Regions from separate parts of the Homo sapiens genome. Here all the other regions are linked to region 1. The links are contacts of gene promoters, found by promoter capture Hi-C in human tissues and cell types (Jung and others, 2019). All regions are on one chromosome and are shown on one strand. The core of a region is centred on a gene start or on the middle of the fragment in contact, and the rest is flanking DNA. Distances in the headings are between cores, read along the strand shown. Region 1 holds the start of TTC23 (tetratricopeptide repeat domain 23). Region 2 has its middle 170 kb from the start of LYSMD4. Region 3 has its middle 160 kb from the start of LYSMD4. Region 4 has its middle 100 kb from the start of LYSMD4. Region 5 holds the start of LOC124903563 (a long non-coding RNA gene).

Evidence for each region. Contacts are between HindIII fragments. The study calls those that stand out against the background at their distance.
Region 2: a fragment that was not itself captured here is called in contact with the fragment with the promoter of TTC23 in region 1 in 1 of the 25 tissues and cell types used here (lymphoblastoid cells).
Region 3: a fragment that was not itself captured here is called in contact with the fragment with the promoter of TTC23 in region 1 in 1 of the 25 tissues and cell types used here (lymphoblastoid cells).
Region 4: a fragment that was not itself captured here is called in contact with the fragment with the promoter of TTC23 in region 1 in 1 of the 25 tissues and cell types used here (lymphoblastoid cells).
Region 5: a contact is called between a fragment that was not itself captured here and the fragment with the promoter of TTC23 in region 1, in 1 of the 25 tissues and cell types used here (lymphoblastoid cells).

The regions. Positions count from the first base shown.
Region 1 is chr15:99,245,838-99,250,830 of GRCh38, forward strand. TTC23 (tetratricopeptide repeat domain 23) reads right to left here and starts at 3,744. Exons shown (of 14, transcript NM_001288615.3): 1 at 3,334-3,744. The HindIII fragment of the contact is 13,786 bases long and covers 1-4,993 here.
Region 2 is chr15:99,905,724-99,910,716 of GRCh38, forward strand. No RefSeq gene overlaps it. Among named protein-coding and RNA genes, the nearest start is that of LYSMD4, 170 kb to the left of the region's middle. The HindIII fragment of the contact is 4,214 bases long and covers 1-4,060 here.
Region 3 is chr15:99,887,317-99,892,309 of GRCh38, forward strand. No RefSeq gene overlaps it. Among named protein-coding and RNA genes, the nearest start is that of LYSMD4, 160 kb to the left of the region's middle. The HindIII fragment of the contact is 6,167 bases long and covers 1-4,993 here.
Region 4 is chr15:99,834,101-99,839,093 of GRCh38, forward strand. It overlaps the pseudogene LOC400464. Among named protein-coding and RNA genes, the nearest start is that of LYSMD4, 100 kb to the left of the region's middle. The HindIII fragment of the contact is 3,380 bases long and covers 838-4,217 here.
Region 5 is chr15:99,790,144-99,795,136 of GRCh38, forward strand. LOC124903563 (a long non-coding RNA gene) reads left to right here and starts at 1,413. Exons shown (of 3, transcript XR_007064776.1): 1 at 1,413-1,498; 2 at 2,236-2,336; 3 at 2,426-4,993. It also overlaps the pseudogene DNM1P46 and the pseudogene RN7SL484P. The HindIII fragment of the contact is 4,285 bases long and covers 489-4,773 here.

The DNA of each region.
Region 1 (4,993 bases), core at 2,494-4,993:
AGACAGACTCTCGCTGGAGTGCAGTGGCGTGATCTCGGCTCACTGCAACCTCCACCTCCCAGGTTCAAGACATTCTCCTGACTCAGCCTCCCTGACTCAGCCTCCCAAGCAGCTGGGATTACAGGTGCCTACCACCACGCCCAGCTAATTTTAGTAGAGACGGGGTTTCACCCTGTTGGCCAGGCTGTTCTCGAGCTCCTGACCTGAGGTGATCCACCCGACTTGGCCTCCCAAAATACTGGGATTACAGGTGTGAGTCACAGGGCCCAGCCTGTTAGGCAAAGACTTCTGAGATATAACACCAAAAGCATAAGTGATAAAAGAAAAAAAAAGATAAATTAGATTTCATCAAATCCAAATCTTTACTGCTTCAAAAGACACTATTATTAAAGTTAAAAGACAACCCACAGAATGGGAGACAATATTTGTAAATCATTAATCTGATAAAGGACTTTAACCACAATATATAAAGAACAATTAAAAATCAGTAACATGGGGCTGGGCGTGGTGGCTCACGCCTGTAATCCCAGCACTTTGGGAGGCCGAGGTGGGCAAATCACGAGGTCAAGAGTTCAAGACCAGCCTGGCCAACATGGTGAAACCCTGTCTCTACTAAAAATACAAAAAATTAGCTGGGCATAGTAGTGGGCACCTGTAATCCCAGCTACTCAGGAGGCTGAGGCAGGAGAATCGCTTGAACCTAGGAGGCAGAGGTTGCAGTGAGCTGAGATCGAGCCACTGTACTCCAGCCCGGGTGACAGAGTGACACTCCGTGTCAAAAAAAAAAAAATTTATTAACATGGGCTGGCGCGATGGCTCATGCCTGTAATCCCAGCACTTTGGGAGGCCAAGGCAGGTGGATCACGAGTTCAGGAGTTCGAGACCTGCCTGGCCAACATGGTGAAGCCCCGTCTCTACTAAAAATACAAAAAATTAGCTGGGCGTGGTCGTGGGCACCTGTAATCCTAGCTACTCGGGAGGCTGAGGCAGAAGAATTGCTTGAACCCGGAAGGTGGACATTGCAGTGGGCCGAGATCGTGGCACTCTGCACTCCAGCCTGAGCGACAAAGCGAGACCCAGTCTCAAACAAACAAACAAACAAACAAAAACCAAAAAAACCAAAAAACAATCAGTAACAAGATGACAACTCAATTAAAAAAATAGGCAAAATATTTGAAAGACATTTTACAAAAGAAGATATATGGATAGTCAACAAGCACATGAAAAGATGCTTCATATCGTCAGTCATCAGGAAAATGCAAATGAAAGCTGTAATAAGATACCACTTAAAATCCAGCTGAATGACTACAATGAATAAGACAGATCATAAGGAGTGTTGGTGAGGATGTGGACAAATTGGAACCCTCATACACTCTGGTGGAAATGTAAAATGGGAAATTCACCTTGGAAAGCAGTTGTGCAACACCTTGAAAAGTTACACCCAGAGTTACCATATGACAGTAATTCCACTCGTAGATATACACCCAAGAAAACTGAAAACACACGTTCATACAAAAACTTGTACCCATCTTCATAGCAGCATTATTCATAATGCTAAATACTGTACTGTATTTACTGTAATACAATTACAATTAGTACAATTAAACACTATATTTAAATACTAGAAGAAATCCAAATGTCTGTTAATTGGTACTGTTAAATAAAATGTGGATTATTACTTAGCAATAAAAAGGAATGAAGTAATGAGACATACTACAACATGGATGAACCTCAAAAACATTATGCTAAGTAAAAGAAACTAGATGCAAAGGATCGCATAATGTGTAATTCCACTTACATGCCCAGAAAAGGTAAATTTATAGACAGAAAGTTTTTTAGTGATTGGGGCTGGGGATAGGAAACCAGGACTTGCCTGCAAATGGGCACAAAGTATTTTTTTAGGATGATGAAAATTTTCTAAATTTTCTAGGATGATGAAAATTTTCTAAATTTTCTAGGATGATGAAAATTTTCTAAATTTTCTAGGATGATGAAAATTTTCTAAAATTGGAATGTGGTGATGGTTGTGATTTTCTAAAACAATCATTGAGTTATATCCTTAAGACAAATGAACTTTATAATATATAAATTATACTTCATTAAAGCTGTTAAAAATAGCTATGAAACCACAACGCAGTTTTATGTGTAATTCTGGTTTTTATACATATTATGACAAGACTTTTATAAAGACGGGGCAACCATGACTCCCCAAGACAGTGTGGCAGCGGTCCCCAAAAATCTTAAAGAAGTAAACTCAATGCTTTCGAAGACTACAAAGAAGTGCATCAAAATTTATATTATTCAACAATGATAAGGTAAATGTATTCGGGTAAGAAGCATGGTTACTAACCTGTGTGCCAGTATTTACACAGCATGGGGCCCCTTAGCTTCTGGTCTCTGCTCTGGTCTAGCCATCTTAAATTCCACTGTCAGTTTTATTGTCTTCAAATATTACTTTCATAAGGGGTGCCTCCTGTTCCAAACACAGGACCCAAACCCCTGATTTTGGGAATTCCGGCTCTTTATATTTCTCATGCTGCTTTTTAAAATTTGTAACCAAAGTTTCCAAATGAACCTTCTGCCGCAGTCAGAACCAACTCTTCCTCAGGCTGCATGTATTTGCTAACAACTCACTCACTAGTAGGGATGCCACTTCCCTTATTTTTCTCTCTGAAATTCTGCCCATTGCTCAGGCCCAAATTGAGTCTTACCCATACTGTGAAGCCTTCTCTGAATAATTCATCTCACATTGAGCTGAGCTCCTGAAGCACCTGTGCTCTACAACAGTCATCCGGGCATTAAGAACTGTTCAGAAGTTTTAGTTTAAATGTTCTGAGCCTCATTTGTCCCTGCTCTTGAGGGGCTGGATTTTATTACTTTATATTCCCCTATATGGATTAACACAGGCAACTTAAGAAATAGTCATGTTCATCAACGTTTCCTTGATAAATTCTTTTGTATTTGTTTTAATTAAAAATGTCATTTTTGAAATATGATTGCTGGATTTTTTTGAGAATTTACCCTTACATGCTGATTCTGCTTCAGGTATCTGTAGTATGTTTTGTTCAGCCATTAGCAGATCTGTCCCTGGAATCCCTAATCCACAAATATACACAAAATTTGGGTTCAAGCAACTCTATTTTCTCCTATATCTTTTAATAGATATATTATCTATTATGCCAGGTATGACAATATATAAACAAAAATATCCATATAAAAATTACAATATTACTAAATGTCCTTCTAAATCCACACTTAAGCAACAATAACGAAGCACAGTTTCTTAAAGTAGAAAATGATCTATAGTTAATCTTATTATCTTGCCTCCTTTACCTTTCAAAAATCCACTGATAATCTGGGCATGATGCTTTCAAACTTCACCCTAAAGAGAAAAATGCTCTCTGAACACTCTTCTTCCTGCTGTCTTTAAATTGTGCCTGTATTTTCTCTGCTTTTCCTTTGACACTCAATCACTCCTTTAAAACTTGTAAAAAACCGGAAAAGTTTCTGTAACTCTCCAATCTCCAACTATGTCGTAAAATCCCTTGCCAGTTTACCCAGTCTGCTGGAGAGGCTCACCGTTTCTTTTTCGAGCGAATTACACAGTTGTCTTGGCAGCGTGATTTGCCCTCTGGTTCCTGCTTTATCAGTTTGGTGATTCTTTGTACAGATTGATAACCATGAAAAAGTCTAAAGTAGGGCAGTTCCGGAGCAGCCTTTTCCCATAAAGCAAGCGGGTACCTCACAAAACTCCAGGCAAAAGAATGAATGATAGAGCACTCACCAATAGCGAGTGGAGAAGAGTATTTTGTCGAAGTTTGCAAACCAATCTTTGGGAGCCAGAGGTGGGAATTTTAAAATGAGGTCTTTTCCTTGGAATTTTCTTAAAGTGGTATCGTTGCCTGTTGATATTGAAGTTTGTCAAAGAACGTGAAATCACCAGCTTAGAGGATTTTTTTCCCCTTTAAGAGAGACAAAACGTGCGAATTGATTCTCTACAAATTGTGAGAACTTCAAGAGTGGGGTCATAAAGTATTATCAAATATAATCACTTGGTAACTTTTGTGTCAATGTGGGGAGGAGGTGAAGGTTATTTTAACATGATTCATTTTTCATGATCAAATATCAGATATTAATCACTGAAAAACAGTATTCCCCATTAAAAAAAAGAAATGAAAACTAAGAGGCTAACATTGTTTTCAAAAAACTGTTCTACTGTTAATCTTTTTTCTTTTTTGGGGGGTGTAACTCTTCATATATTAGCAGCAAGTCTTATTATTTGGGCTGACCATTAAACACCGTATCTTTGTTTTTACACAAAATGTGGATTTCCTCATTTTAAGACCAGCAAAAAATTTCTGAGTGCCACGAATTCTTAGGTATTCCGAAACTATCTTAGAAATACATGACATATACCAACCATGCTGTATACCTGAATAGCTCTTGAAGACCAGATTTAATAGATAACTGATAATTTTTATTATAACTCATACCTTGTTTTAAAACCAATGTTTTTTATTTAATATAACTCTGCTTTCTAGGTTATTCGTCTCTATGAATAATTAAGTCAGCAACTGTAAAAACTACTTCATTATAAAGTTAAAGTTCCTTGACAAGGAGCCTCGCAAACTCATAGACAGGCTTTCCACAGAACAAAAAATATCAGCGGTTGTAGTAGAGGATTATACTTTAAAATCTTCATTTCAGAAGGAAATTTGTCATATTAATGAGACACTTTAAAAAGTGTCTTTTAAAAATGTTTCCGAACTATGCTTCCAAGTATTTTTAACAGCATAAAGCCCTCTTTCATGCTATTTCGCTGACATAATAATTTTCGTCTTGAAGAAATACATATTGACGGCCTACTCAGTCAGGCTAGGAAGTGTCATTGTATTTAACTCTCTAAATTGTTCCTGACCTTTTTAGCAATCTTTACTCAAAATAAACCTTGGGTGTTTGAAGGGCAGAGACTAGGTTACGTCCTCCTCATCTT
Region 2 (4,993 bases), core at 704-3,203, 660 kb after region 1:
CTTCAAATGCCCTCCTCCCATTTACATATCTAATTCTTCAATGGCAGTAACAGATCACTGCACGATTTTTGCTGGAGGAAAGAAATAGTAGGAGCTTTTCATAAAGCACATTTATGTCTCTGAAGGTTTGAAGTCAAAAACTAATGTTATGAAGAGAACTGATTTTATACTTACTCTGACTGAAATTAAAATGAATATTGGTTATATCTGGAGGGATTTTGTGAAACAATGCCAGTGGAAGAATGAGAAACTGAATATACACATACACATAACACTTTTATGACTGAGATGGCATGGGGGCCACTGAAGCCGAGTAAGAAGCTGCCACACCCATCATCTTGATTGGCTTTCGTCTTAAATGCACTTGGTCTGACACAATTTCGTCAGGGAAATGCATACTCTATGTGCCAGGGAACCAAAAATTAAATCTCCTTTCTTGTAGCGGAATGCTTTCTCTTCAATCTAGCCTGAATCTGAATCTGGCTTCTAGGGCAAGACTGAAGATACACTGGAGTTAAATATTAAATATTATTTTAAAAATTTCAATGCAGACTGAAACTACCTCACTTCTGTCCTAGTCAAGAGAAACAAAACGAAATAAATACACAGCAGTACTGAGAGTAATATGGGCCCAGGGTTTACATGAGCGGCTCAGAGATTTCTGGAGGACTTCTGAAAGACAGGAAGTTAATGAGATTCTATTTATATGAGTTTCCTAGGGCTGCCATAACAAATTACTACACGCTTGGTGACTTAAAACAACTGAAATGGATTCTCGTGCAGTTCTGGAGGCTGTTATACGAATAAAAGAGAACAGAGTTGCTAGTTGTCCAAAATTTGCCCAGAAGGGAGCAGAAGAAGTAGGGAAGATGGATACTATTGTCAAGGGTAGGGCCTCAGGAGGTTTTAAGCTTCATGTGATCAAATGAGTAAAGCAAAGTTGTAATGGAACAAAAATCAGGGAAATCATTGAGGTTTTGTGGATGAATAGTTCTATGTCTTTCCAACTTCCCTTTCTCTTCCCTCCTTTTGGCCCATTCTGAGATAAAAGCAGGCAGAGTTGCCTTTACGCCTGACCTTCTTGCTAGCTACGACCAGCAAATAACACTCTCATGTAATAACCATTCTTCCTGAGTAGGATTAGTCCTTTGATTTATTATGATTCTCTGGCATTTTAGGGCAATCTTAGCTGCTCTCCTGCTCATGTCAAGGTTGTCTTGACATGCCTGTCTGCACATAGAGTTCAGAGCCAGCCTGCCCACTCAGAAGACAGACCTGCTGATGATGAAATCATTCACAACTGAAACAAAATCTTACAGAAGCTACGTGTGTCAGTCATCTAGTTCTTTCACATGAATATAAACAGAGAATCAAGGATCATCAGACACATGCAGCTCTCACTCAGGATTTAGATAAAAGTCACTTCCTTGGGAAAAAAATGATTTCTACTTTATCTGTATCGCTCTTGAGTTCAATCAGTAGAACATTCATGAGAAATCCACCCCATGATCCAATCACCTCCCACCAGGCCCTACCTCCAACATTGGGGATTATTACAATTCCACATGAGATTTGGGTGGAGACACTGATCCAAACTGTATCACCTGCATACACATTAATTCTTTTATTACTCGGAGCTAGAGCACCAGGAATGAGATTGCTAGATTGAAGGGTATATCTAGTTTTAATTTTAATAACTGTTGCCAGGTTGCTTTCCAAAAATGCCATAACAATTTATGTTTCAGCAACAATGTATTAGAGAATGCTTTCCCTGAATCTTTGCCCACAAACATATTAACACATTTCGTTTTTAATCAGTTTGATGGGTATAAAGTGTTGTGTTGTTTAATTTGCATTTTTCTAATTACCGACAAACTTCAGCACCATTTTCTGTTGGTCATTTGGATTTGAGCCTCTGTGATTTGCTGTGTTAATTGGATTAGGTTTATTTGCATATGGCAGAAAAACCAAAAACAACAGAGGCTTAAATTGGATAGAAATTTGTTTTTGTCCCTTGTAAAAGTATTCTGGAGGAAGGGAGTGCGGGATTGGTATTGTGGCTTTGCAAACTAATCAGGGACCCAGGCGTCTTCTAGGGCTGCATTTTGCTCTCCTTAGGGAATGGCTGTGGTCCTCAGCCCCACGTTCCAAGATGGCTGCTAGAGTGCCAGGCATCACACCCTCATTCCAACCAGCAGGGGAGAGGCAGGCACAAAGGAGGACACACTCCTTCCCTTTAAGGAGTCTTCCTGGACATAACACACAACACTTCTGCTTGCATATATTGAATCAGAATTTAGTCACATGGCTATACCTATCTGCAAGGGAGGCTGGGAAACATGGTCTTTCAATTAGATAAATGGCAACTCTGAGTAACATCAGGATTCTATTACTGAGAAGGATGGGGGTTGGGGGGATGGCAATTGAAGTAAGTACCTAGAAATCTCTGCTAAAACTGCCTTCCTTTTGCCAGTTTTTTTTCCATTTGGCTATTTGCCTTTTTTTTTTTTTTTTTTGTCAATACAGATGGTCCCCAATTTACCATGGTTCAATTTAAGGATGTTTTGACTTTACAATGGTGTGAAAGTGATATGCATTCGATAGAAACTGAACTTAAATTTGGAATTTTAGTGTTTTCCTGTGCTAGCCATGTGTGGTACAAGACCGTCTTGCAATGCTGGCCAGCTGCAGTGGCTACAGCTCCCAGTCGGTCACTCAAGTAGGAGGGTAAAGAACTGATACTGCGGCCGGGCGGGATGGCTCATGCCTGTAGTCCCAGCACTTTGGGAGGCCGAGGCGGGTGGATCACGACGTCAAAAGATCAAGACCATCCTGTCCAACATGGTGAAACCCCATCTCTACTAAAGAAATACAAAAATTAGCTGGGCATGGTGGCATGTGCCTGTAGTCCCAGCTACTCGGGAGGCTGAGGCAGGAGAATCATTTGAACCTGGGAGGTGGAGGTTGCAGTAAGCCGAGATTGCGCCACTGCACTCCAGCCTGGAGACAGAGCAAGACTCCATCTCAAAAAAAAAAAAAAAAAAAGAACTGATACTCCACAGTGGACTGCCTTGCCAGATGATTTTGTCCAGCTGTAGGCTAATGTCAGTGTTCCGAGCGCGTTTAAGGTAGGCTAGGCTCAGCTATGATGTTTGGTAGGTTAGGTGTATTAAATTCATTTTCAACTTAACAATCATTTCAACTTACAATGAGTTTATGTGGATGTAACCCTATCTTAAGTTGAAGAGGCTGTGTATATGTATGTATGTGTGTGTTTATGTATCATTTCTTTGGAGCTTTTTGGATTTTGGAATTGTAAACAAGAAATTGCGACCCATATTTTCACCCCTATTTTACAGAGGAGGAAACTGAGACACAGAAAAGTGAAGTAACCCGCCTGGGGTCACACAGTAGAGGTCTAAGTCAGGATTCAAAGCCAGCAGTCTGGCCCAGAGCTCCAAATCTTTGGCCTTACAATACTTTGCCACCGCAACAGCGTGATCGGTGACAGGCCCGCTGTCTGTCCTGGGACGGGTCAGCTGAGCCCCCATTCTGAGAGTGAGCCCTCTGGCTGCTTGTTGCACACTGGGCTTGGGTTGCAGGGCTGCAGGCCCCCTCGCTGGCTGGCTCCTGGAAGCGCTGTGCTCCCACAAAAAGCCAGCCAGGCCTGAGGGCTCAGGGCTCACAGGTCCATGGAAATCAGCCCCAGGTGACTCCTTCCCACCTCTGCCCATGAAATGTGCCTCCCAGGCTCCAGGTTTCCCCTGGAATACAGGCCCCTGGTGTTCCCAGTGCTGTACCTGCAGTGTCTGCTTTGCTCTGAGGCCATGGCATTATTGACTTAAAATAAGCTGCTTGGGCTTTTAAAAAACAAAGAATCTGCAGACTCTGTAGCCCTTTTCCTTTCCACCTGTGCTGGGGAGCATGGCAGTGGAGAGGGTGGGCAGGCCGCTTCCTGTTGCGTAGGTCAGGCCCCCCCCAGCCCGCCCTGCTCCACGCTCTGGCCCCTCTATCAAGAGCTATTTCTCATTTTTTCCAAGCATGAGGTTCAGGTGTCTCCATCCTCCCAGGCCCCCGGCCCCCTGCCCAGGGATGCCTTTTATGGGACCATGTCTGCCCTCAACTGGGCCGCCCTCCGAGTTCTCTCCATTTTATTCCCCTGATGCCTGAAGTGGTGTTTGTTTGTTTGTTTGGTTGTTTCTGGAGATCCGAATACACAACACTTGGGGTTGAGGTTTTTTTTTACTTTGCTGGCTGGAGTCTGCTTCTCTAAGGGTGGAGGAGGGAATGAAGAAAAGTCCTGAGCACATTGCTTTAGAAACCTAATCTAGTGTGGTCAAGTGGAAACTCAAGGGCAGTCTGTCTTGGAGGAGAGCGAGAGGGACAGGCAGACAGGTCGTGGGGCTCCCTCTTCTGGGCCTGCCGAATACAACCTGCTCCGCCCATGCCTCACTTGGTCCTTGCAACCCAGGACTCGTGCTTTTCCTCCCCCTAGTTAATTTAGTCCATTATTTTTTCATTCTCCATAGAATATTGGTTTTGTAACACTCAATACAGTTTAATATATACCATTTAGACAAAAGTTCCACCTTACGAAAGATCAGCAAAAATACATCAGCAAAGATATAACTAGTGCATTTATAAAATACATCATAACAAGGAATCCAAACGATCACACACAATAATCTTCACGTTTGACATACTGGTTACAGCCTAGGAGAGCTCGCTAAATGCCAGTGTCTTTGGCAAGTGATTCACATCTGTAAGCTGTAAACCCAAAAATATCTGAGACAGGTCTCAATCAATTTAGAAGTTTATTTTGCCAAGTTAAGGACATGCTTGGAAAAAAGGCACACAAAACCACAGGAACAATCTGTGATCCGTGACTTTTTCCAAAGATGATTTTGAGGGCTTCAGTATTTAAAGGGGAAAAGCGGGCTGGAGGGGAACGAGGGAGGGGACAGTTGCATTACTGAATCCACATGTTGCAAGA
Region 3 (4,993 bases), core at 1,074-3,573, 640 kb after region 1:
TGCTTTAGCTGGGAGGATGTCAGACTTAAATGCAATTTTACAGTCTCTTCGAAGGATACAGTTAGTCAAACATCAGGCAGCTAAAGTATCTGTCTGGCTCCTGAATGTCTTCAGGTCATGGAAGTAAGTGCCCTGGTTACAGGTTTCTCCAAATGAACGTTAGGAATATTTCCTTTTCTCTACGTCCATGTTGAAAGTTTTTTCTGTTTTGTTTTGTTTTGTTTTTACTTTTTCCTGGCATTATATACTGAACTCCAGAAGATGAGGATGTGGATGGTTGAGATATGCTTTTGGAACTTGGAATTAATAAAGGCAGATGCTAAATTGCTGAAAGCATTAAAACCTGACACTGCGTGTTAAATCATTGTAAGCAAGGTCCTAACAGAGCGTTTGTGATTCGTAAAATAAAAATTAAAAAAAAAATAGTGTTCTGGGCTCCCTGGATATTTTACATCAAAGAGGCGGAAATGAACAACAAACAGCTGAAGCATTTGTCTCTCCATATTGTAGCTGCTGGTAATCTTCAGCGCTGCAGATCATGCCAAATAAGGTGGAAAATCTGTGTACTTTCTGAGTACTCTTTAAATTATTAAATATTATTTTAATGTTGTCACCAAACATGTATACAAAGAATTCATAAAGAGGCTGTTTTAGAATTAAATTGTTTTATCAGTTTTATGACTTTAGAGTTATACTGAATATATCTACATGCATATATATATGTATATGTATATATATATAAACCTTGTGTAAAAGTATATTTAGGAGAAAATCTTCACTTTAGATTTTTCTAATATCTTAGTTGGGGCATTGTTGGGAGCAAGCTCCCCAAAATCTGTCCATAAACTGGCCCCAAAACTGGCCATAAACAAAATGTCTGCAGCACTGTGATATGTCCACAATGGCCCTAACGCCCAAGCTGGAAGGTTGTGGGTTTACGGGAATGAGGGCAGGGACCACCTGGCCTGCCCAGGGTAGAAAACTGCTTAAAGGCATTCTTAAGCCACAAACAAAAGATGAGCGATCTGTGTCTTAAGGGCGTGTTCATTCGGCCTATCCCTTCGTTTCCCATAAGGGATACTTTTAGTTAATTTAATATCTATAGAAACAATGCTAATGACTGGTTTGCTGTTAATAAATATGTGGGTAAATCTCTGTTTGGGGGTCTCAGCTCTGAAGGCTGTGAGACCCTTGATTTCCCACTTCACACGTCTATATTTCTGTGTGTGTGTGTGTCTTTAATTCCTCTAGCGCCCCTGGGTTAGGGTATCCCTGACCAAGCTGGTCTCAGCAGGGCATATTATATGCCATCTGAATATTTATTTATTTTAATTATTATTGTACTTTAAGTTCTAGGGTACATGTGCACAACGTGCAGGTTTGTTACATATGTATACATGTGCCATGATGGTGTGCTGTACCTGTTAACTCATCATTTACATTAGGTATATCTCTTAATGCTATCCCTCCCCCCTCCCCCAACCCCACGACAGGCCCCAGTGTGTGATGTTCCCCTTCCTGTGTCCAAGTGTTCTCATTGTTCAGTTCCCACCTATGAGTGAGAATATTCGGTGTTTGGTTTTCTGTCCTTGCGATAGTTTGCTGAGAATGATGGTTTCCAGCTTCATCCATGTCCCTACAAAGGACATGAACTCATCCTTTTTTATGGCTGCATAGTATTCCATGGTGTATATGTGCCACATTTTCTTAATCCAGTCTATCATTGGCCATCTGAATATTTAAACACGGTGTTTTATTTTTCATTTATGTCTCACTTTATTTTGTGTTTACATCTTAGCAACGTTTCTTTCAATACTTCCCAAAGTAGGTGATATTTTCTGAGAAATGAATATGGATGTAAGTGAAAAGACTAGAGGCCTGGAGTTTTAGTTTGGGGACTGCCACCAGTTATAGGTGTGGCCTTGGTTTGTCACTTAAATTTTCTGGGTGAACAACGTTTCTTCATCTGAAAAATTAAGAGTGTTAATTAAATTAAGTGATTCAAGGTCCTCACAACATCTCTATCTGAATGACAATGGATGTGTATACTTAGAGACAAGTATGAAAGTTTCATGTAAGAATAGCAAATAAGAGCAGTGACAAATAAGTGAACTAGATGAAATAAACTGACAAAAGTAACAATATATTTTCACATTGTCACCTTTGATTTTATGATGATTTTGAGAGAGCTCAGGAGCAGGATTCTATTTTACAGTAAGCAAGAATAAGGTTCACTAAAAATATATGACTTTCTCAAAATTACCGAAAAGATTATTCCATAAAACAAAGTGAATACTATCTTTTGACTTCCAGACAAGGTCTATGCACAACTCATAATTGTAGGTCTACATATGGTAGGTGATTCTTACTACAACCATTGTTTATGACAGTATAATAATAAGCTAATATAATTGTGCATAAATGCGTGAGAGAATGATTTAGATTATCATTGACAGAACACTGGCTAATTTTATCGATGTCTACATTGGCCTGGAGCGAATAGGTATTTGGTCTGCTTTGTTTTTAGATCCCCATTTAAACTTTGAAAAGGGGGCATAAAGCTTTCTCTGGTTAATTATGAAAGTCTTCTATGACAGTTTACTTACAAAGAATAGTTAAGACGTGAATTTAATAATGAGGTGCAGAAAATATGGTAAAGCATCTGGATCTCTGCCTCCTTGAATCTAGATAATGATTTGGAAAACTGAGATTTTAAAAAAATTATGCCATCAAATATCATTAAACACCTAGAGGCATGTGTTATTGAACCAGGTCTTATATCCACTACACTGGACCATATGTTTTCACATAAATACCTGCTTAGCTACATTACGATAATATTTGCACACATTTTAATCACATCCAAATTACATAAAAACACAATAAGATGCACCGGGTGAAGTAAAGCAGCGACGATTACAAATGTTTGCATGTTAATGGCCTCTTGTGTTTGACATAATATTCAATTTAAGGTTGGAAGTAGATGGGAATGGGGACATTTCATTTCAAGCGATTTTTTTTTCTCCTTTTTTTGTAAACATGACAGAGTCCTTTAGCTAAATTTGAAGGAGGGCTTTTCCAAATACAGGAAGCAGCCTGAGACATGTTTCACCATTGGTTGCAGAAAAAATTGGATGATGTCAATGATGAGAGGGTTATCAAAGATGCAGAAGAGGAAACGGGTTATTGCTATAGGATCACAACCCTCAAAACTGAAGGTGAACTTTTTAGAATGCTTTACAGTGGAAGGGCGCTGATGCAGGCCTGGCAGCCATCTTTGTGAAGGTAAAGCAGAGAAACAGACAAGGAAGCAGGGTAAGGAGTGTCTTACCCTTCATTCAAGAATTTTACTTAAAATCTCCCCATGTCAGTAAGGCACTGCACATTTGCTCTCACCTGTGTCTGCCATCCCCATGTTCAGAGCCTTTTAACCCCTTGTCAAACCTTTCCAGAGAGTAATACTCCCATGCCTGCTTGCACCGAGCTGGGAAGTAAAGTGTGGTATCTGGTAGCTACTTAAAAGATCTTCAATCAACCCTGTTTTTAGCTCCATTTCACACTCCTCCCATCTAAGGAAGCTGGTTCTCCACTTTCTGAGCCTTCTTGGGGTTTAGCAGTAAATAGAACTATATCTTTCTGGCAACCTGAATATAGGGTTACATTTCCCCTTCTCTGGCCTACTGAGTCAGTTACTACCATACCAGATTATAAAATTTTGTCGATGTGGGTTTTCTGCCTGTTGTTTCCTTTTCTACACTCTTTGTCCTTGTAGTTTATGCCAAAAAAAATTCCATTACATACATTTTATTGGTGTTTTGGGAGGATGGGGAGATAAATGTATTTAAGTGGAAGTTCTCCCCACTCTCTCTTTAATCCTCTCCAATCAGACCTTCATCCCTACAAATCCACTGAAATACCTTTGTCAAGGTTACGTACGTCTTACTTGCCATTTCAGGGCATTTGATGCTGTTGGTTATCTCTTTCTTGAAATACTTTCTTTCTTTGACTTCTTAGACACACACACTGTACAGGTGTTCATCTGATTAGTTGCGTCTTCTTGGTCTCCTTCACCGTGTCCTTCTTCTCAAGAAAGTCTGGGTACTTATGGGCTCAATTCTAGAACATCTTCTCTTCCAATTCTAAACATATTTCCTGGTTGAAAAAATCCAGTCCTCTAATGCCGAGTGCCATCTCTGCTGATGATTGCCATATTTATTCGTCTAGTTCTGACATCTATCCTGAGCTCCTGATTGTTTTATCTAACTGCGTACTTAACATGATTCTCCAGATGTCTAATAAACATTCAGAAAAGAACTCTTGAACCCCCATACTTCAACCTACAATCTTCCTTATCTCAGTACATAGCATCGACACTCACTCAACATTTACACATTCATCTCATCAGCAGTCTCCTTCCTCCCTGCCTTCAATATATAACCCAGATGCAATCACATTTCCACCATGGAACCAGCCACTGTCATGCACTCCTGCAAATATTGTCATCTTTTCTTCTTATTTCTCCCTTTTTTTCTCTACCGTTAGTTCTCAACAGACAGAGATGGTTTAAAAACTTATATTAGTCTCTGTATCCATTCATACTTAAATCACCCCAGTAGTGCTGAATCTCTCTGATCTGCTCTCTCTTGGCTTCTCAGTTCATCCCCATCCCTCAACCTCACTTACTGCACTCTAGTCACACAGGCCATCTTGCTTTCCCTCCATTGAGCCACGCTTGTTCCAATATTGGGACTTTTTGTAATCACTGTTTATCTCCGACCAGAAGATACTCTCTGCTGCTTATGAACCACTTACTCCCTCATAACATGTAGACATTTTCTCTCAATTGACACTTCTTCAAGGAGCTTTCCTATGATCAAATCTACCTCGTTTACAGTCCTTTCATTTTTCTCCATGCCGCTTATCATCTCCTGATGTTCAACATATTTACTTGTTTATTTTCTATTTCTATTTCTTGAATGTAAGCTCCATGAAG
Region 4 (4,993 bases), core at 1,278-3,777, 590 kb after region 1:
TATATAATCTCTTATTTAAAGTTAAACATCGCTATGAAAAAACTGAAACAGTCTCTTGCTGAATGTGATATGCCAGCTGAATAATGAGGTTTGGCTTCTAAGTAGCTTAAACTTAGCCTGGAAATGCAGATTGTTGGTATTTTCTCTGCCCTCCAAAATTGTGATAATGAAATCTTTTAGTCTTTCCATTTCTGTTATACATAAATATGATAAAACAAGAACAAGAAAATATGTTTTCATTGCCTTAGGATGATGCATTTCAACTCAGAGTCTTCATATAATTATCATACTATCAGAACTTCTACAATGGCAGTAGTCAATACTGAGAGCAAAAGGAATCCCAAAATTCTTCCATAACGAAATGTATTATTAGCAAAGATTTATTTAACAATTTCAAAGTATTTTATAGTCTAAAATCACATACATTCACACCTTTGTATATTTGAATAAATGCCTAAGAAAATGAAACCAATGTTTAAAGAAAACACATTTTTAAATTTTAAAGCAAAGATAATTTATAGCTCTAATTAAAATGTTAAATACCTCTTAAGTGTGTCTACGATTCATGGGCAAAGCAGTCAGTACTCTTGACGGATTTTATTTCTTGACAATTTTTGCTCACTTGAAATCCATAGAAAATATGCCCACAAGGTTAACAACAATTTTAGAATAACTTATGAATTGGCTTTTAGGTAAAGTTTCTGAATATTCCTTCTTGAGCTACATCCTGCTTCACACATAAATTATGATATAAATTGTTCTAAATGTAATATATATTATCGTTACATGTGATCAAGTGTCAAACATGTCCCCAAATACCTGTTCACCTCATCTGCATGACTGAATGGTAGAAGTTTTAGAGTTATTACCCCAAGCAACAATGTCAGCCATCTCTAATCTTCCCTACACTTCCCACAGTTCTCTCATAGATGACAATATGCCCTTCACCAAGATCCATCCTTTCTTAATTATATGGAAAACCTCAATTTCATAACCCATGAACAGAAAGGAGAAAAATCTCTCATTCTTTTACTCTCTACAGTGCCAAATATACTGTTTGATTTTTCTCTTTCTGCCTCTCTGACTCTGTTTTCCTGTGTCTTTTTCTTTATCTTCTCTCTTTTTTAGTGATCAGGTAATTGCTTCTGGTCCATACTGTGGCCTCTTTTCCATAGTTTTATTTTCCAAGCGCGCTCTGCATTATCGATTCCTCTCCCTCTCTAGATTATACCAGTTCTCTATTTTTTAGTAGCTTCATTTTGGAAACACCAGCAGTGACATTTTTATGAACACACTACATTTCCGTACACACACACGCACACACATACATACACACCTCTGTTTAAGACCTTGAAACCCAGAAAATTCTAAAAAAGTAGATCAGAGATGTACTTCCTTTCAACAAATTCAACCAAATTTTGGCCAAAAATATCTTTTTGTGAATACTTTGTAAATGTATACCCTCATCTATTGAAAATTATGCATAATGTTTCCAGTTCTGTTGATATGCTTCGGTATAGGGTGGCATTTTTTCCTATTTTCAGTTAAGAACTGAATAGAACCCAATTTTGAGAAGGATTGACAAATGAGATCCCTTCCTGAAGCAACTATGAGGGGAATATAAGGTCCACAATGTAGCTCCTTTTTGAAATATTTGTGATTAACCACTGAATTACACTAATCTCTTTGTAAAATCCTGCATTATCATGTAGCATATGCAGTATTGGAAATTTAAAAAATATATGTAATTCTTCTATACACTTCGAATTTTTAGTCCAAATGTCAAATGATAAATTATAAATGCTGAGCACTAATGTTCTCCCTCCAAATTGCATTAAAAGTGCTCTGCAGCATAGGAAATGGAAATTTTAATTCACTAGTCTACTTACAACCTCAAATTAATCTTCTTACAACATTTTCTGTCTTACAAGTATATTTACATATCAATTTACTCAACTGAAATTAGAACATTTGTAAGAATTGATATATGCATAAAAATGTTGATTCTGTATAATTAGCATTTTTATTATTGATAGCATTTTTTAAATTAGAAGAAAAAACAAGGTTTATTATGTTATGAAAAGCCAGCAGAAACATGCAATTGCGAGATTATATCCTTAAATATTCACGGATGTCCTGTTTCCGTTTTATTTACCCCAGCTTCTTGACTTAGTAATCTTGAATTCAGCAAATATTTATATATGTTGGCTAGGTATCCTTTACAATACGTAGTAAAAATCACTGATAACTTGAATGAAGCATTGCAGGAAGTATCCTAAACAACACTAGGAAAAAAATCTATTGTTAATATATTGAAAATTACAAAAGTAAATCCATCCCTCTTATGCTAAAATAATGAAATTTGTTCTTTGTAATTTCCTAGAAGTAGATGGATAATTTACAAATTTTTGATTAGTATATTATTTAACTTATTTTTTATTTATTTCATTTTTAAAATTTTGTTGAGAGGGAGGCTCTCTGTGTCACCAGGCTGGAGTGCAGTGGCATGATCTCAGCTCACTGCAACCTCCGCCTCCCAGGTTCAAGCAATTCTCCTGCCTCAGCCTCCCGAGTAGCTGGAACTACAGGTGTACGTCACCATGCCCAGCTAATTTTTGTATTTTTAGTAGAGACAGGGTTTCACCATGTTGGCCAGGATGGTCTCAATCTCTTGACCTTATGATCTGCCCGCCTCAGTCTCCCAGAGTGAATTTATTTTTTCAATGTGAAGCAATTTAACGTATAGAAAAGGGAAGCACGTAATATTCTTTTCACTCACATGCTAGTGATGCCTTCTCATTTTCAGTAGAGCACTGCTTGGAATTTTATATGATTGGGCATTTGCACTTTATAGCAACAAACTGATCAGTTGGTGGGGTGCTGAGATAATATGTGCTAATATTTCATTTATACCGTAATTAGGAGGAAAATTATTGGAGACATGTCAGCTTATGTGTGAAATACATTCAGGGTCAGAATACAAAAATCACAAGTACACATAAGGCATTTGGCATAAGCTTCCTGACCAAGCTTCGAAGTGTTACAACATAGATTATTTGCCTCCAATTCAAAATGTCTCTTCCCTTAAATTAGGGACATAAATGGAACCATATTTTTCAGTGCTTGAGAAAGCATCCTTTTAGAGCAATGGTATTGAATTAAGAAATTCTGGTTCAGAATACAGTGGAACTTTAGTGTCCCATGGACAACCCTTCAATATTTCTTATTTATTTATGAACTCATAATCAATCCTGTATATTCAGAGAAGACAGAAATAATGGCTGAGATCTTTTCCACCTCAGTTGGCTTGATTTTCTAGGCATAGATATACTGTTGCTTAGGATCATAGAAAGAGCACTGGGGCAAGGGTCAGGAGAGCTGAATCCTAGTCCTTGGTTTGACACTTATAGGATGTGGGATTAGCCTCTATTCTCCTGTCTGTAAGTACCTTTCCTTTCTTAGAGTTGTGACTATAAGGATTTTATTTTTATTTTAAGTTTTAATTTCTCATCTCCTCCTTCCACAAACATATAAAAACTCGACACCGTCCCTCAATTATCTTGTTAATGCCTCTTTCTTTTCACTAATTTTATGGCCAAATTACTGTTGTTCCTGGGGAAAAAAATAAATGACAAGAGCAAATCTCTATCATTTTCAAGCCCCAGTGGTAAATAATGTTAGCAGTTTTGGGTGGATCCTTTCAGAAATTTTCAGTGTATATATATTCTCATTATATGGTGATGAAATTATTCTCTACAAACTCAATTTCTACTCTTCTTTTTGTAATGCAATACTTATTGACCACATTTATATTAACATATCCTTTATAACATCTGCATAATATTCCATGGAACGGTCACTTTGTAGTGTAGCTAATAAGTTTATATTAATGGATTTTTTTACTATTATAAATAATACTGTAATAAGCATCTTCATATATATTCATCTAGATTGATTCTTAGTGTAAATTATTAGTGGTGCCATTGCTGGATGAAAGGAAGTGAGTGTTTTAATTTGCCAGATATTTGTAATGGCTCTTCGAAAATTTGGAACTATTACAGTCTCGCAGGTAGTGCATTAGCATGTTTCTTTCCTTTATCTTTGCCAAAATTGAATGTTTTACAGCTAAAATTTTTGTTAATCTGATATTCTTATTGTTTCAATTGACATTTTTTAAAAAGTTATGATTGAGGTTGGACTTTTTTCATATGTATATTAATTATCAACATGCTTTTTCTGATTAACTCAATAATTTTTAGTAAGTTGTTTATATGCTATGATTTCATTTTTACCACCTACCCCACTTTACAAATAAAAGAATAATGTATTGTCAATATGGATAATTTGGAAAATGTACAAAAGTTAGCAAAACAATCGAACAGGAAGCTGAAGAAGGAAGGAAAATGCTGCTATCTTGATAAAGTAAGTAAAAAAAAAAAAAAATCTATTGGATTTGATGACTGGCAGGGTGATCCAAAGCCTAGAATCTTACCACAGACCCAATCAATCACCAACTACCACCAATTTCTTCTTCTCGTATCTCACATTATCTCTCTTCTCAGCCCTTTGTGTTCACCATGGTATTTGATTTCTGATTATTCTTTCTCCAGACTAGCCCTGCTTGCAACTTCCACGTGCAGTCCTCCGCAATGCTGCCAGAGCGGCAGCTACAACTCTATGATTGAAGGCATCGCCCTCCTGGTTCTCCATATTGTTTGCCATCTTGGACAGATAAACTAGATGAGCTCTTTTTTCAACACTCAGAGAATGTTTTGAATTCACATTTCTGCCATCTTACTCACCTATTCGAATCAGTTCCCTCCCCCTCCCTTGTATCAAATATTGTCTCTGATAATAATACATTGAGTTATTTGTAGTTCCTGAAGAATTTCATGTTCTTATAACATGAAATTTTTTCCCACACTATTTGTTATAACTAGTTTACCTATTTCTGCCTAAATAAAATCTTCTCCAAATTTCAGATCAGACATTA
Region 5 (4,993 bases), core at 1,381-3,880, 540 kb after region 1:
TTTATTTCTTTTGAGATGGAGTTTCGCTCTGTCACCCAGGCTGGACTGCAGTGGTGTGAGCTTGGCTCACTGCAAACTCCGTCTCCCGGGTTCAAGTGATTCTACTGCCTCAGCCTCCTGAATAGCTGGGATTACAGGCACCCACTACCTCACCTGGCTAGTTTTTGTATTATTAGTAGAGATGGGGTTTCACCATGTTGGCCAGGCTGGTCTCGAACTCCTGACTTCAGGTGATCCACCCGCCTCGGGCTCCCAAAGTGCTGGGATTACAGGCGCAAGCCACCGCATCTGGCCCAAAAGCTTTGTGTTGTTACAGATATTAGACATGTTTCTTGTTTAAGAAAAAATTTTTTAACAATAACATAGGAGAATAAGAGAAACCTTTTTCCAAAAAAAAGAAACTTGTGATTATTTTATCTTATTGGAATGTTGGATAATATAGTCTGCTTCGTTAATCATCAAGCATGCTATGGATTTTCCATTTTTATAGGATCTTTATCTCAGTTATGGTAATACTGGTAATTTTTGTACTGTGTTTGAAGATGAAAAATATAGGCCAAAATCGTAGACCTTGCATAGAAGCTGGATAATGAAGACAGCTCTGGAGGAACACATAGATACACACACACACACATATACATAAAGTATACACACATATATTTTTTAAAGTTTTAAAGCTTTTAAAGCAAAAGCCGGCCCCTCCCCTCTCCCAGAGGGGGCGGCCCCTCCCCTCAGAGTAGGCGGGGACAGCAGTTGCATGGACAGCTTTCCTTGTGAGCCACAGGTCCCTCTGGACATACTGCTGCCTGGCCACACCCCCTTTCCCTTTCATCTTTGTCATTGACCAATGGGCTTGGAGCATTAAGGCCACGCCCCTGTTCTGCATTCTATGGGGGCCCTAGTTGTGCCTCCTCGGGCTCAGTCACACAGCTGCCTGGTAGGCAAGTGGAGGTGTTCATCAGTGCTCACTGGGATTTTGCTCACGTGGCCCCAACCCCGCCTCCCTCCCCACCCCGCAATGGCAGAAGAAACTCAACAGAGCAAATTGGCCGCAGCAAAGAAAAAGGCAAAGGTTGGAAGAGACCTTTAGAACAGCTGGTCCCTATGCCGACCGGGTGCCCGCACTAAGTTTGGCATCAATATGATGTCCTCCTGGGAGCGGGGGGCCACCAAGTTGCCTAAGGATGGCTGAACTGGCCCAGGTCAGAAAGGGAGCGGGTCAGAACTCCCACATCGACTGGTAGTGGGACTATGCCTGATCTTGGTTCTTAAAAGTAAAAATAAAGAACAGCAGCTGCTCTCTGGGTAGTGGCTGGCTCAGTGTTACACAGTGAGGGTGGAGGCAGAGGTGGGCCCACAGTACCTCCCTTATTGGGCTGTCTGAGGACCCTTCTGGCCACCCCCCACAGGAGATAGAGGAGGACATCTGGACAGTGAGGAGGAGGCACCTCGGCCCATGCCAAGCAACCCAGAGGACCTGGAGAGCTGGGAGGCCACGGTGAGCCTGACTCCCCCTGTACCCATTTTGCCACCTTCCTCTGTGGTCCCTCCAAGACCCCTTTATGCTCTTGGTTTCCCTGCCTTCTGATTTCTCTGGACCCTCATCCCTTCCAGGAGCCAGTGGTCAGACACCATTTCACCTGTGACCAACAGATGCACTCTCTGAGGCCCCAAGGGAAGAGGCTGCACTCCACCTCTCTGCCCCGTTCGTTCTGTGTATGCCCCTACAAGAATGCTCACCTCTTGCCCTCAGGTTGCATTTTTCAACTCCGCTGGAGCCAATGCCCAGGAGGAGCAGGCACGGTTATGAGAGCAGGTGAAAGAGCAGAGGGTGTGCTGCCAGCGCATGGCTCACCTGGTGGCCTCGGCCCAGCAGAAGCCAGAGGCAGCGGTCCCAGCCCCAGTGACTAGGGGCCAGTCTGTGAGTGGGGAGACCCACCGGGCCATGCAGGAGGTCATGGAGAAGCTGGAGGTGACTGAGTCCTGGCATGGGCCAAGAAGGGCAGGGGTGGGTGTTGCTGCCGAGATGTGACCCCATTATTTTGGCTCCAGAGTGGCCTTATGGACCTCCTGGAGGAGAAGGTGGACCTGAGGGAGCGAGCGGAGAAACTAGAACTTCGATTCATCCAGTACTGGAAAGACAGAAGTCATCAGTTAGTGGGAGGCCAGGGCACGGCAGGGGGAGCTGCAGGGCCGTCGGAGGGACCTCAGCGTCTGAGCCCTGTCCTCCTGCAGGAAAGTTCATCACCCTAGAACACAGCCAGGGGGCAGTGCCAAAGATGCGGCAACTGGAGGAGGACATCATCAGGCTGGCCCAGGACATGGAGGAGATGAAGGTAGGGTGTGCAACATCTCTGCAGGGGTGGGGGTGGGCGTGAGGGTGGGCGCCGGTAGATGCATAACAGCTGAGCACCCCTCCCTCCAGGTGAAGCTGCTGGAGCTGCTGGAGAAGATGTTGCGGCTTGTGGTGACTACAACGAGGGACACAGCAAATTCCCGGCCACTGCCCTGAAGCTTGCTGATGAGCCTGGTCCAGGAGCCCCAGCCCCCCAGGAGCTTGTGGGTGCTGATAAGCATGGTGGTGAGTAGAGTCCTCAGGCAGGGTGGGCAGGCAGGGGCAGGGGAGGCTCTCACTGCACTCGGATCCCCACCTCCTTCTCTCCAAAGATCTTTGTGAGGTGAGCCTCACTGACAGCGTGGAGCACCCAGGCTTGTGCAGCAACTCCCGTATGCCATTCTTTTGCTGGGCTTGGCTGCTGAGAAGAAGGAGATAAACATCACCATCATCAAAGAGCTGCTCAAGAAATTTTAAAAAAGGAAACAAAGTTATGGGGTTCATCTCCTACCCAATTCATTTACTTCATTTGAATGTTAGAGCCACTCATGATTATTTGTAATTTATAGTTTATTTGTAAAAAGTTAAAGGAGAGTGGGTCTCTGTGGCTTTCACTGATGTTTACTCTGGCATCCTTCAGCATTTTTCTTTTTTAGTTTCATAGTTGTAGGTCATTAGCATGCATATCGAGTTTGCCCTTACGTGGTGGGAGTTCAAATACACAAAGACCCACTATTTGCACAAAATTATTATTGCTGGTTTGGAATAGGCTGCCATGCTTTTTTAATGTTATCGCAGCATGTATGTTCATTACGGAATTCAGATAAAATTTGCTTATGTTCTGCTATTGTTTGATCTAATCTTAATCACAGTGAGCTCTTCATTAGCTCAATATGTGGTTTGCCCCCAGGTGTGCACTGTTTATTACTTTGTAATATGCCACTATGAGTACTGACATTTAGAGTTGTTTAAAGGCCGAGAACTGGAAACAGCCTTTCCCCTATTTTCTGTGTATTGGTGATGGGAGTAATAACATTTTGGGGGAGCTTTTAAAATCTCACAGAAGAGGAAAGTGGCCTGCTGTGGCAGGTTTGTGCAGGATAGAGTGTGTTTCATTTGTTCCGGTGCCAACAATTAGCGCTGTACTATGGTAGTTCCCTTCGGATTTGTATGTGCTCTGGGCTCATGAAGATATTGCATCATGAGCTGCAGCAGTTGTACTCTTTCTCGATGACCTAAAAACTGATCATTTCTGAGGAACGAAAGGCTCCCTTCATTGACTGTAGATGTGGAAAACCTTTCCTAGCTTAGAGCATTTGTGTCTATAATACATTTTAAAGTCAGAGTTGATGTTACCTGTTTTAATCACATGACCACATGTCCCAGTACACAAAAGAGTGCTGGCTGGCATTCTTCTTATTTAGTAAAGATCATAAGAAATCCTTTAGGAGTTTAAATGTCCCTGGAACAGGCATACAGGCTCTAGTCAAGAATGAATTAGAGTGAAGGAAAGCTTGTGACACCTGGCATTCCTCTCTGTTCATGGAGCTTCTTTGAGGCTTGAAGATTGATTTTTACCATCTACACCTCTCTGGCTAATACCTATTCTTCAACCACCTTGGTTACTCTGACATAGGAATTTACTTCTTTTCCTTGAATGGAAAACACTTTAAAAAATAATAACAAACATTATTATAAACTAATATATGTGAGAGTACTTAGTTGAAACAAAAAGGAGTTTTAGTAGACAGTATTATACTATATTTGATAATCAAGGAGATGTTTATGCAATTTAAAATGTTTATAAACTGCAGTGCAGTCTACTGTTTGTGAATGTCAATGTATTATCAGGAAATGTGTCTATACAATCACAGAGTTATATTTCCTCACAAACTTGTTTACTAAGAGTGAAATATGTTTTTGTACCTCTCAGTTTCAGTTAGGGACATATTTTGTGCAATATTTATGTGATTGTGCCTATGCATGATGAACAAATGATTTCAGTCATACATTGCCTAAATCATAACTTGATGATGCTTGGGAAAGACTCAACAGTTCAAACTTCATGAAGTTCTAATGTCTGTGTTCCAAAACACATCACATTATTAGGATGTAGGGAGATGTGTATATGCGCTCCCTGGGGTGGGGATTTCTAGTTACTAGACCATCTCCATTTTTAGCATTTGGCGTCCTCATGATACTTTTCTAAATATGACATTAACAGGAGAGCAACAATACGATTTTACCGATGGAATAACAGATTTGCCTGCATTCACTGAAAGAGCGCAAATATTGGGTCCTTGTGACTTCAACTGACTCTTCCAAATTGTATGAATGTATCAATGTATTAGATAAACCCAGTTTCAGAATGATAAAGAAAAAATGTTAGACCAAATAACACAGCTAATTAACAGTGGTACGATTTCTAGCCCGTGGGTTTAAAATGGACCTAAAGTCCTGTTCTTGCCTTTTATTTTCTGAACTTGCTGCTTTTGCATTCTTTGAGTTCAATTTAAAGACAGTTACTTTAAGTCCATTTTAAACCCTCAGGCTAGAAATCATACCACTGTTAATTAGCCACATCTATTTGGTCTAACGTTTTTTCTTTATCATTCTGAAACTGGGTTTATCTAATACATTGGTAAATTATTTCAAAGG